Linked DNA regions of Homo sapiens: region 1 is linked to region 2. Evidence: promoter capture Hi-C in 16 types of primary human blood cells and fetal thymus (Javierre and others, 2016). All regions are on one chromosome and are shown on one strand. Each heading gives the region's core, a stretch centred on a gene start or on the middle of the fragment in contact. The rest is flanking DNA. Distances are from core to core; before and after follow the strand shown. Region 1 overlaps SPTB (spectrin beta, erythrocytic). Region 2 holds the start of GPX2 (glutathione peroxidase 2).

The links. The method cuts DNA at HindIII sites, captures the fragments that hold promoters and counts their contacts. A CHiCAGO score of 5 or more calls a contact.
Region 1: a fragment that was not itself captured here is called in contact with the fragment with the promoter of GPX2 in region 2 in 1 of 17 cell types (megakaryocytes); the score reaches 8.4 in megakaryocytes.

The regions. Positions count from the first base shown.
Region 1 is chr14:64,800,954-64,803,578 of GRCh38, reverse strand. SPTB (spectrin beta, erythrocytic) reads left to right here. Exons shown (of 36, transcript NM_001355436.2): 5 at 1,262-1,353; 6 at 1,745-1,825; 7 at 2,179-2,294. Among named protein-coding and RNA genes, the nearest start is that of MIR7855, 17 kb to the right of the region's middle. The HindIII fragment of the contact is 4,238 bases long and covers 1-2,625 here.
Region 2 is chr14:64,938,246-64,944,062 of GRCh38, reverse strand. GPX2 (glutathione peroxidase 2) reads left to right here and starts at 1,318. Exons shown (of 2, transcript NM_002083.4): 1 at 1,318-1,558; 2 at 4,225-4,905. The coding sequence starts at 1,337. The coding sequence ends at 4,575. The region is part of intron 3 of CHURC1-FNTB (CHURC1-FNTB readthrough); the gene reads right to left. The HindIII fragment of the contact is 4,140 bases long and covers 1-3,562 here.

The DNA of each region.
Region 1 (2,625 bases), core at 1-2,500, 140 kb after region 2:
AGGGAGCCCTCAAGGCTGCCCAGGGCCTTAGAATCTTATAAAATGCTGAACAGAGTGTGGGTGTTAGTGCACATTCTGGGAAGGCTGTAAATCTGCCACATGGGACAGTGCTTGTAGGAAGGAGTAACCATCTTCTGTATCACCCCAAGTCACTGAAGCTCAGGGGGAGCTGCTCACTCAGTAGTATGGTCTTTTCAGGGAGAAGATAGAAATTAATTGGTAGCTGGGTTGATATCTGGCTGGAAGATTAGCTTTTTAGCCTCCTCCCCCTATACATGTAACTTCTTGGTTTTTGAAATAGATACAGAAAATTGCAAAAATTGTGTAGAAGATCTGTGTGTATATTTTCCAATCAGAAACTTTTCTCTTCTCACCCTGAAATTCAAAGTCCAGATTATTTGTAAGGAAATTTAGAAAGGGGAAGGGGAGGAAAACAGGGTCTTGCACCTGCTGGTTTGGGGACAGAAAGAACCTTGCCCAAGGAGGTGAGGGCAGGAGAAAGAAGAGAGCATACAACTCGCGGACTAAAGACCTCAACCAAGTGGCCCCGCATGTCCGATCTCACTCTCCATGGGTGCATAACATTGAACAACAATAGCAGCAGAGTTGGGGAGAATGGAAAGGCAAGAGGAGCTGCTAATGAAAGTATAGTACTCATCAGCATTCATGTTGTTCCACAGCCTCAAGGGGCATTGCACCTCCAGAGGAGGAATCAGGGCATCTTGTCACTGATTCTCTGCATTCTATTAGAGTTATCCAATTACAGCTGTCTCATCCCTGTGCCATTTTGGCTGACTGAGGCAGGGAAGCAGGCTGCTGGGGCACAGGGCCTCAGGATGTGGTGTTGCTGCGGGGCTGGCGGCTACTCCTTGAGGGCAAGAAATTTGTTTTACCTCTGTGTGTCCTCAGGCCTAGCACAGCGCTGCCACATAATAGGAACAGAATCAATGTTTGTACAGACAGCCACAATACAGCTATGGAGTACTGATGGTGCACCAGGCTCCAGGCCCTGGAGACAGACAAGTGACCAAGACAGATTTCCCTGGGCTCAGGGAGCATCTAGGAGAGAGAAGGAAATGTAAATGCAGGGAGCAGGGCACATGAAGGGAGACCCAACCCAAGCGCCATTTATACTGGCTCTTAAAGGATGAATTAGTGTTAAGTGAAGGGGGGATGAGGGAGGGAGCCTCCCAGGGACGGCAGGAAAGCACAGATCCAGATGCACATCCTCTTCAAATCTCTCTTGTTCTGCTACCCTCAGATTCAGGACATTGTGGTCCAAACTCAGGAAGGTCGTGAAACACGCTCAGCCAAGGATGCGTTGCTGTTGTGGTGTCAGATGAAGACGGCAGGGTATGCCCTGGGAACCAGCTGTTAGCACATCCACCACCAGCCCCTTGCTCCGCACAAGCACTGCCATCTCCAGAGGGACATTAGACATCATCACCCAGAACTACAGCTGCCTCCCTGTAATTGATGCAAAGTCTGTCCTGACCTGATTCTTTGAGGCCTGGAATACAGGATTCTTTTCCAAAGTTGCCTGCAGGCAGACTGGGGGGTCTGTGTGGTGTTCACATCTGATGGGGGAGCCTCTGTGTGTGGTTAGCTGCTGCCCCCTCTTGGTGACCTGGCTCAAGAAAGGACAGTTCCATTTCTCTCCTGGTATATTGGCCCTCAATTTGTACACTTGTTTGGGACTACAAAAAATCTAATTCTTAGCTCTTACTGTTTCTCTTGGATGCAGCTACCCTCATGTTAATGTCACCAACTTTACCTCCAGCTGGAAGGATGGCTTGGCCTTTAATGCCCTGATACACAAGCACCGGTAAGAGGGAGGGGACAGCCGTGGGGACTGACTGAGACAGCCTCCCTGGGAATATTTGGACACATTGCACTTAACATGGAGTCACAGAAATGTGACCTCTGCTGTTCCTTCTCCTCTCCCCTTCAGCAGCCCATAGCACCTTCACTTTCCTTAAATCCCAGCATGCCTGCCGCCCACTTCCCTCATATGCCAAGGCTCACACCTGCCCCCTCTCCTCTGCTCCCATCTCCTCCTTTCACTCCTCCTGCCTGACCACCTCCCTGCCTCTGTACAATGTCTGCTTCATGCTAGGGCTGCCCTCCTGGTGGGGATGCTGTGGCTACTCCCTTTTCACAGTCCAGTTTTGTCCCCAGGCCCGACCTGATCGACTTTGATAAGCTGAAGGACTCCAATGCCCGGCACAACCTGGAGCACGCATTCAATGTGGCTGAGCGCCAGCTGGGCATCATCCCGCTCCTCGACCCCGAAGGTGAGCCACACCCACCCCTGCCAGCCTTTGCTGCAGCAGTGGGGGATGCACTCGCTGTGCTAGAGGAGCTCAGCCGCCAGGACTTCTGGAGGCCGGCCCAGGTGCTGGGCAAGCTGTGGGCACAGTGAGGGGCAGTGGCCAGGCCAGGCTCTGATCTGGGCCTGCTTCTCTGCTCCATGCTGGTTCCCATGCCTGCCTGGTCTGTTTGGAGATGGACTTTGGATCCTTCTTCTTTTCTTCTTTTGTAATGTGTGGTTCTAAAATGGATTTCATCACACTCTTCCATTCTTGCTCTGTTGGTTGTCACTTGCTGCCTGTAGTTGAACTTGAT
Region 2 (5,817 bases), core at 69-2,568:
TCAGATTCTCAAGACCAGCTGCTCCCCGGACTTGCTTATTCTTTGTTCCAAGGAGACAGTTCCCAATGGATGTGCCCCTGTGAAAACACCCTAGTAAACATTTGCTTTGTTATTGAAATTTCACTCTAAAATCCCAAAGCTAGGTCAAGCCCCATTGCTAGTTTTACTGATGAAGAAATCAAGGCATTTTTAAAAGAGTAACTTGTTGAGTTGGCGGGTGCTTGGGTCTTTTCGGTTTCTGTGGCTTCCAGGGGTGGGCCTCTGAGATGGCCCTTAGCAGATGTCCTGCGATGCACTGCACGCCTCTTGTTGAAAGCATCAGGGGTGACCTGCCTGCGTCTGGAACCACAGCAGCTTCAACTTCCTCCACACACTTCCTTCTGTGGGAAGGTGACCAGCACAAACCCGCTCTGAAAAGTCTTGGGGACCAAATCTCTGTCTGAGAGGAAGGTAGGTGCAGTTCATCCACTAAGTTTATCCACCTGTTCTGTGACTCCTCTTCACCATTCTCCCAGCAACGACTGAGCCTCATGACTTGGGGGCTGGGGGATGAGGTGGAGGTGGGGGATATAATATAGGAGATGGTACAGTGCAGGGGCAGAGGCTGGTGTGTTCTCCAGGACAAGTGGCACCACGCACTGAAAGACTTTTCAAGATAAACACAACTTTGTCTCTTCAGCCTGGCAAGAGCTGAGGCACTGAAAACTTCTTTTTTCCCCTAGAAAATGACACACTCTCCTCCTAAGGGTCCCTTTGATTTTGTCCTGGTGGAAAGCAACAAAGAGAAGAACGTGAACAGGAATATGTATATTTCAGTTGTCATCTGAGTCCCATGGATAGGAGGCTCAATTCTCTTCTTCATCTTTCAGATCTCCGCAGACCCTGCCCTCTCACTGTACAATTCAGAGATTGACACTCAGCAGGCATTCAATAAACGTCTGTGTCAAATGAGAACAACTTGATGGGGCAAGTAGGAGTCAATCCTGCATCCCTCCCTCCCTTTTTTTCCTCTCCATTCGACCTTTAGGGCTCTGGTTTCCTGTAAGCAGTGAATTATTTACCTCTGCTCATAGATATCAAATTGGCCCTTCCCAGGTTGCAGCAGGGTGGGGCGGGGAGGCGGCCTTGTTCAGTCTGTTAATAGGAGGAGCAACCTCCTTGTTCAAACAGCACTTACAGGTGGGGACCTGTTTTTGCTAAGTCATCCTGGGGATGCTCAAAGCTCCATTGTTAGATCCTTTCTGTCCTCCTTCCTGGCTCCTCCTTCCTCCCCACCCCTCTAATAGGCTCATAAGTGGGCTCAGGCCTCTCTGCGGGGCTCACTCTGCGCTTCACCATGGCTTTCATTGCCAAGTCCTTCTATGACCTCAGTGCCATCAGCCTGGATGGGGAGAAGGTAGATTTCAATACGTTCCGGGGCAGGGCCGTGCTGATTGAGAATGTGGCTTCGCTCTGAGGCACAACCACCCGGGACTTCACCCAGCTCAACGAGCTGCAATGCCGCTTTCCCAGGCGCCTGGTGGTCCTTGGCTTCCCTTGCAACCAATTTGGACATCAGGTGAGGGGTCCCTCCTTGTAATGCACCAAAAGTGTTGGGTTGGTGTAGCTCAGGTGGGATAAAAGGAGAGGCTGAATGACCATGTTTTGGAGTGTCTGGAATAATGGGGTATGTTTTGTTAAGCTAGGTCTTTAGGTGCATGTGACATACCAAGAGAAGGTATATATTTTTTAAGATTAAACACTGAGGCTGTGTGATTTTTATAGTTTACTGTCTTTCTACTATATTACTCCATGAGGGCTGGTTCCAGGTCTGTGTTTCTCTCCACTGTGTCCTCAGTGCCTAGGGCACAGAAAGCACTCATTAAATATTTGTTGAATAAATGAGTGGAGAAAGTAGAGGCCAGGAATCAAACAAGAATTGGACAGACTCAAGAGACCTTAGCTCTAGCTGGACTTGGTTTTGCTATTTAATGGCTCTGTGCCCTCGGAAAGGGCGCTTCATTTTTCGGTTTAGTTTCCTCATCTGTAAATTGGGGATAATACCACTTAGCTCATAGGATTATTATGATGTTTAGGGGACAGGATATACAAAAGTAACTTGAAAAATATAAAGTACTATGCAAATGCAAGCAAACTGTTATTTAGATTGAGGATGATTTTTGTTGGTTTAAATTAGCCAAGTGGAAAGAAAATAAGCAGGAAAGAGAAAGGTTTTCAAAAGGCACGTGCCTCTGGGCATTACATGCACCTATTTCTGATTAATGGGTCAAGCTGTTATAGATCTTCAGCCCACACACCTCGAGTTCTCTTTTAGGGATTCTTCTATTTCCACCTATGATTTTAACGTACAAGCAGGGAGAATGAACCCAAGCGAACCCTCTCGTTATAATCCCCTTAGTTCAATTCACAGTGGTATGAAGGTGAGGAAGACAGGAAAGCAGGAAGGCTGAAGCATCACTGGCTGTGACAAACCTGAGCCCAAACTGTTCACTGCTCTCACTGTTCTTCCCTAAGTTTTCTGTCTGGCCTTTTCTAGAGCAGGAGAGACAGAAGTAGCAAACCCTCTTTCGAGATGTCCCTCCAGCCCCAGAAGTACCTCCAGCCTCACACCATCTCTTCAGCCTAGCAAGTTGCTGGAGGGAGTCTATAACCTACCAGGAGCCAGCCAGCCATTTGTATCAAGAAATAGAAATCTGCCAGGGTACAGTGGCTCACACCTATAATCCCAGCGCTTTGGGAGGCTAAGGTAGGCAGATTGCTTGAGCTCAGGAGTTCAAGATTAGCCTGAGCAACATGGTGAAACCTTGTTTCTACAAAAAATTGCAAAAATTAGCCAGGCATGGTGGCATGTGCCTGTAGTCACAGCTACTTGGGACGCTGAAGTAGCAGGATCGCCTGAGCCTGGGAAGTCGAGGCTGCAGTGAGCTATGATTGTGCCACCGCACCCCAGCCTAGGTGACAGAGTGAGGCCCTGTCTCAGGAAAAAAAACAGAAACAAAAACAGAGAAGTCCACTAGAGATCAGCTCTGGGCTCATGATGTCATGATGGCCTGGAACTGACTGAACTAGTTAGTTCTCACAGGTCAGAAGCAGGAACTTTCTCCCAGAGGAAGGTATCTGTCTGTTAAATTGGAAAGGTAGAGGTGGAAAAGAAGGGTTCCCATAGGCCTTTTGGATTGTCATGAATGGTGATGCTGAGAGGGAATAGGACAGGGATGGCAGTGGGGAGGGAAAGGCAGGGACCAGGTTTTGAGCCAAAGCATGCGTAGCTGAGAGCAGTGAGTGGATAGGAGGTGCAGCAGTCTTTGGGTAGCAGCCTACTCAAGAAAAGAATGATAATTACATACTCACAATCTTTAGCCATCAAGCACTTATTTCCTCAACTCCCCCTCCCCCTGGCCTATTGCCAAACCCTAAATCCTGTATCCTATTTACTTCATGCCTGTTGGTTACTAAGTAGTTCCATTTAGAGTACACATTCATTGTTGCCTTGAACTTGCTCTGCTGTTATGGCACCTGAAAACTAGATGTTCTTGGATGGGGGTCTTCCTTCATCAAAGCTTCTTCCCATTTGTACTTCAGTTCTAGGACAAGGCAAGAAGAAAGCAAGAAGCTGTAAATCCCATTCCTCTGGGTCTCAATTTCACCCTCAGTTCAAGGAGCTGAGTAGGCAGAGGCAAAGGCTATACTCAACACACGTGCAATTGAAAGCAGGCGAGGCAAAACCAGGGCAGAGGAAAGGAAAGGGGTGTGTGTGTAGGTATGGATTTATGGGTAGGTGGGTCGGTAGGTTAGTTGAAGAGGAGGTTCTAAGCAGTATAACCTAAGCCTCTTTTCTCTTTCTTCTGCTTCAAACACCTTAAGAACTGCTCAGGGTAGACTGGAGACAAAAGCAACAGCTCAGAAGTGCTAAATCTTGAAGAGCAGCCAAAGCATGGGCAACAAAGTGAGACCCCATCTCTACAAAAAAAAAAAAAAATTAGCCGGGCATGGTGGCCTGTGTCTGTAGTCTCAGCTACTAAAGAGGCTGAAGCAGGAGGAATGCTTGAGCCCAGAAGTTCAAGGCTGCAGTGAGCAACACCTCGTCTGTCTTGTCTCTCTCTCTTTCACAGTGAAAAAGAATGACCCTGGGGAGGGAGTGTAGGAGGGTGAAAGAGTTTCATGTTGTGGATCTTTCTCTTCCCCCACCCACTGTCCACGCACTTTGTCTTTTTCCTCCCCTAGGAGAACTGTCAGAATGAGGAGATCCTGAACAGTCTCAAGTATGTCCGTCCTGGGGGTGGATACCAGCCCACCTTCACCCTTGTCCAAAAATGTGAGGTGAATGGGCAGAACGAGCATCCTGTCTTCGCCTACCTGAAGGACAAGCTCCCCTACCCTTATGATGACCCATTTTCCCTCATGACCGATCCCAAGCTCATCATTTGGAGCCCTGTGCGCCGCTCAGATGTGGCCTGGAACTTTGAGAAGTTCCTCATAGGGCCGGAGGGAGAGCCCTTCCGACGCTACAGCCGCACCTTCCCAACCATCAACATTGAGCCTGACATCAAGCGCCTCCTTAAAGTTGCCATATAGATGTGAACTGCTCAACACACAGATCTCCTACTCCATCCAGTCCTGAGGAGCCTTAGGATGCAGCATGCCTTCAGGAGACACTGCTGGACCTCAGCATTCCCTTGATATCAGTCCCCTTCACTGCAGAGCCTTGCCTTTCCCCTCTGCCTGTTTCCTTTTCCTCTCCCAACCCTCTGGTTGGTGATTCAACTTGGGCTCCAAGACTTGGGTAAGCTCTGGGCCTTCACAGAATGATGGCACCTTCCTAAACCCTCATGGGTGGTGTCTGAGAGGCGTGAAGGGCCTGGAGCCACTCTGCTAGAAGAGACCAATAAAGGGCAGGTGTGGAAACGGCCAGCCTGTGTGTGTGTTCTTTGACAGAGGGCGGAGGGAAGCTACAAACTGCAGGTGGGATAGAGGAGCTGCTAGCACACAAAGCTTTGGGAGGGGAGGATCTGACGGATCAAGGGATGCCCTAATTACTGACAGGAAAGCAAGCGCTGGCCAAGGTCTGCAGTGGCAGGTGCAGTTACGGGAAATGTGAATTATATTATTCCTTTACAGCTCTTCTTCAGAACTGGGGAAAAAGAGAAAGTGATAATGGGAGGTAGAGGAGGAAAAGACAATGAGCCCTTTGGTTGGGGATATTGGGAGGCTGTTAGGAGGATTACAGTCAGGAAGCATCAATAGCACTGTGGGTACTGGGCCAACTAGATCTGACTTGTGCCTTGGGAAATTCCTGGGCAGTCAGCTTAGTTAATGTTTACCAATAGCAAGGGCATAGAGGGTGTAGTTACTGAGAACACAAACAGCACTTTATCTTTTTCCTGATCATCAAACATCTCGGGTGTTTGATCCTTTGCTAGACTGATTCTCCCTCCTTTTTAAAGTTCATGGCCCGGGTGTGGTGGCTCACACCTATAATCCCAGCACTTTGAGAGGCCGAGACAGGCGGATCACTTGAGGTCAGGAGTTCGAGACCAGCCTGGCCAACATGATGAAACTCTGTCTGTACTAAAAATACAAAAAATTAGCCAGGTGTGGTGGCGCACGCCTGTAATCCCAGCTACTCAGGAGGCTGAGGTGAGAGACTCATTTGAACCCGGGAGGTGGAGGCTGCAGTGAGCCAAGATGGCGGCGCCACTACACTCCAGCCTGGGCGACAGAGTGAGACTCCGTCTCAAAATAAATAAATAAAGTTCACATTACACCCTCATTCTTCTCAAAATCACATATTCACAAATTCAGGCTCCAGACAAATAG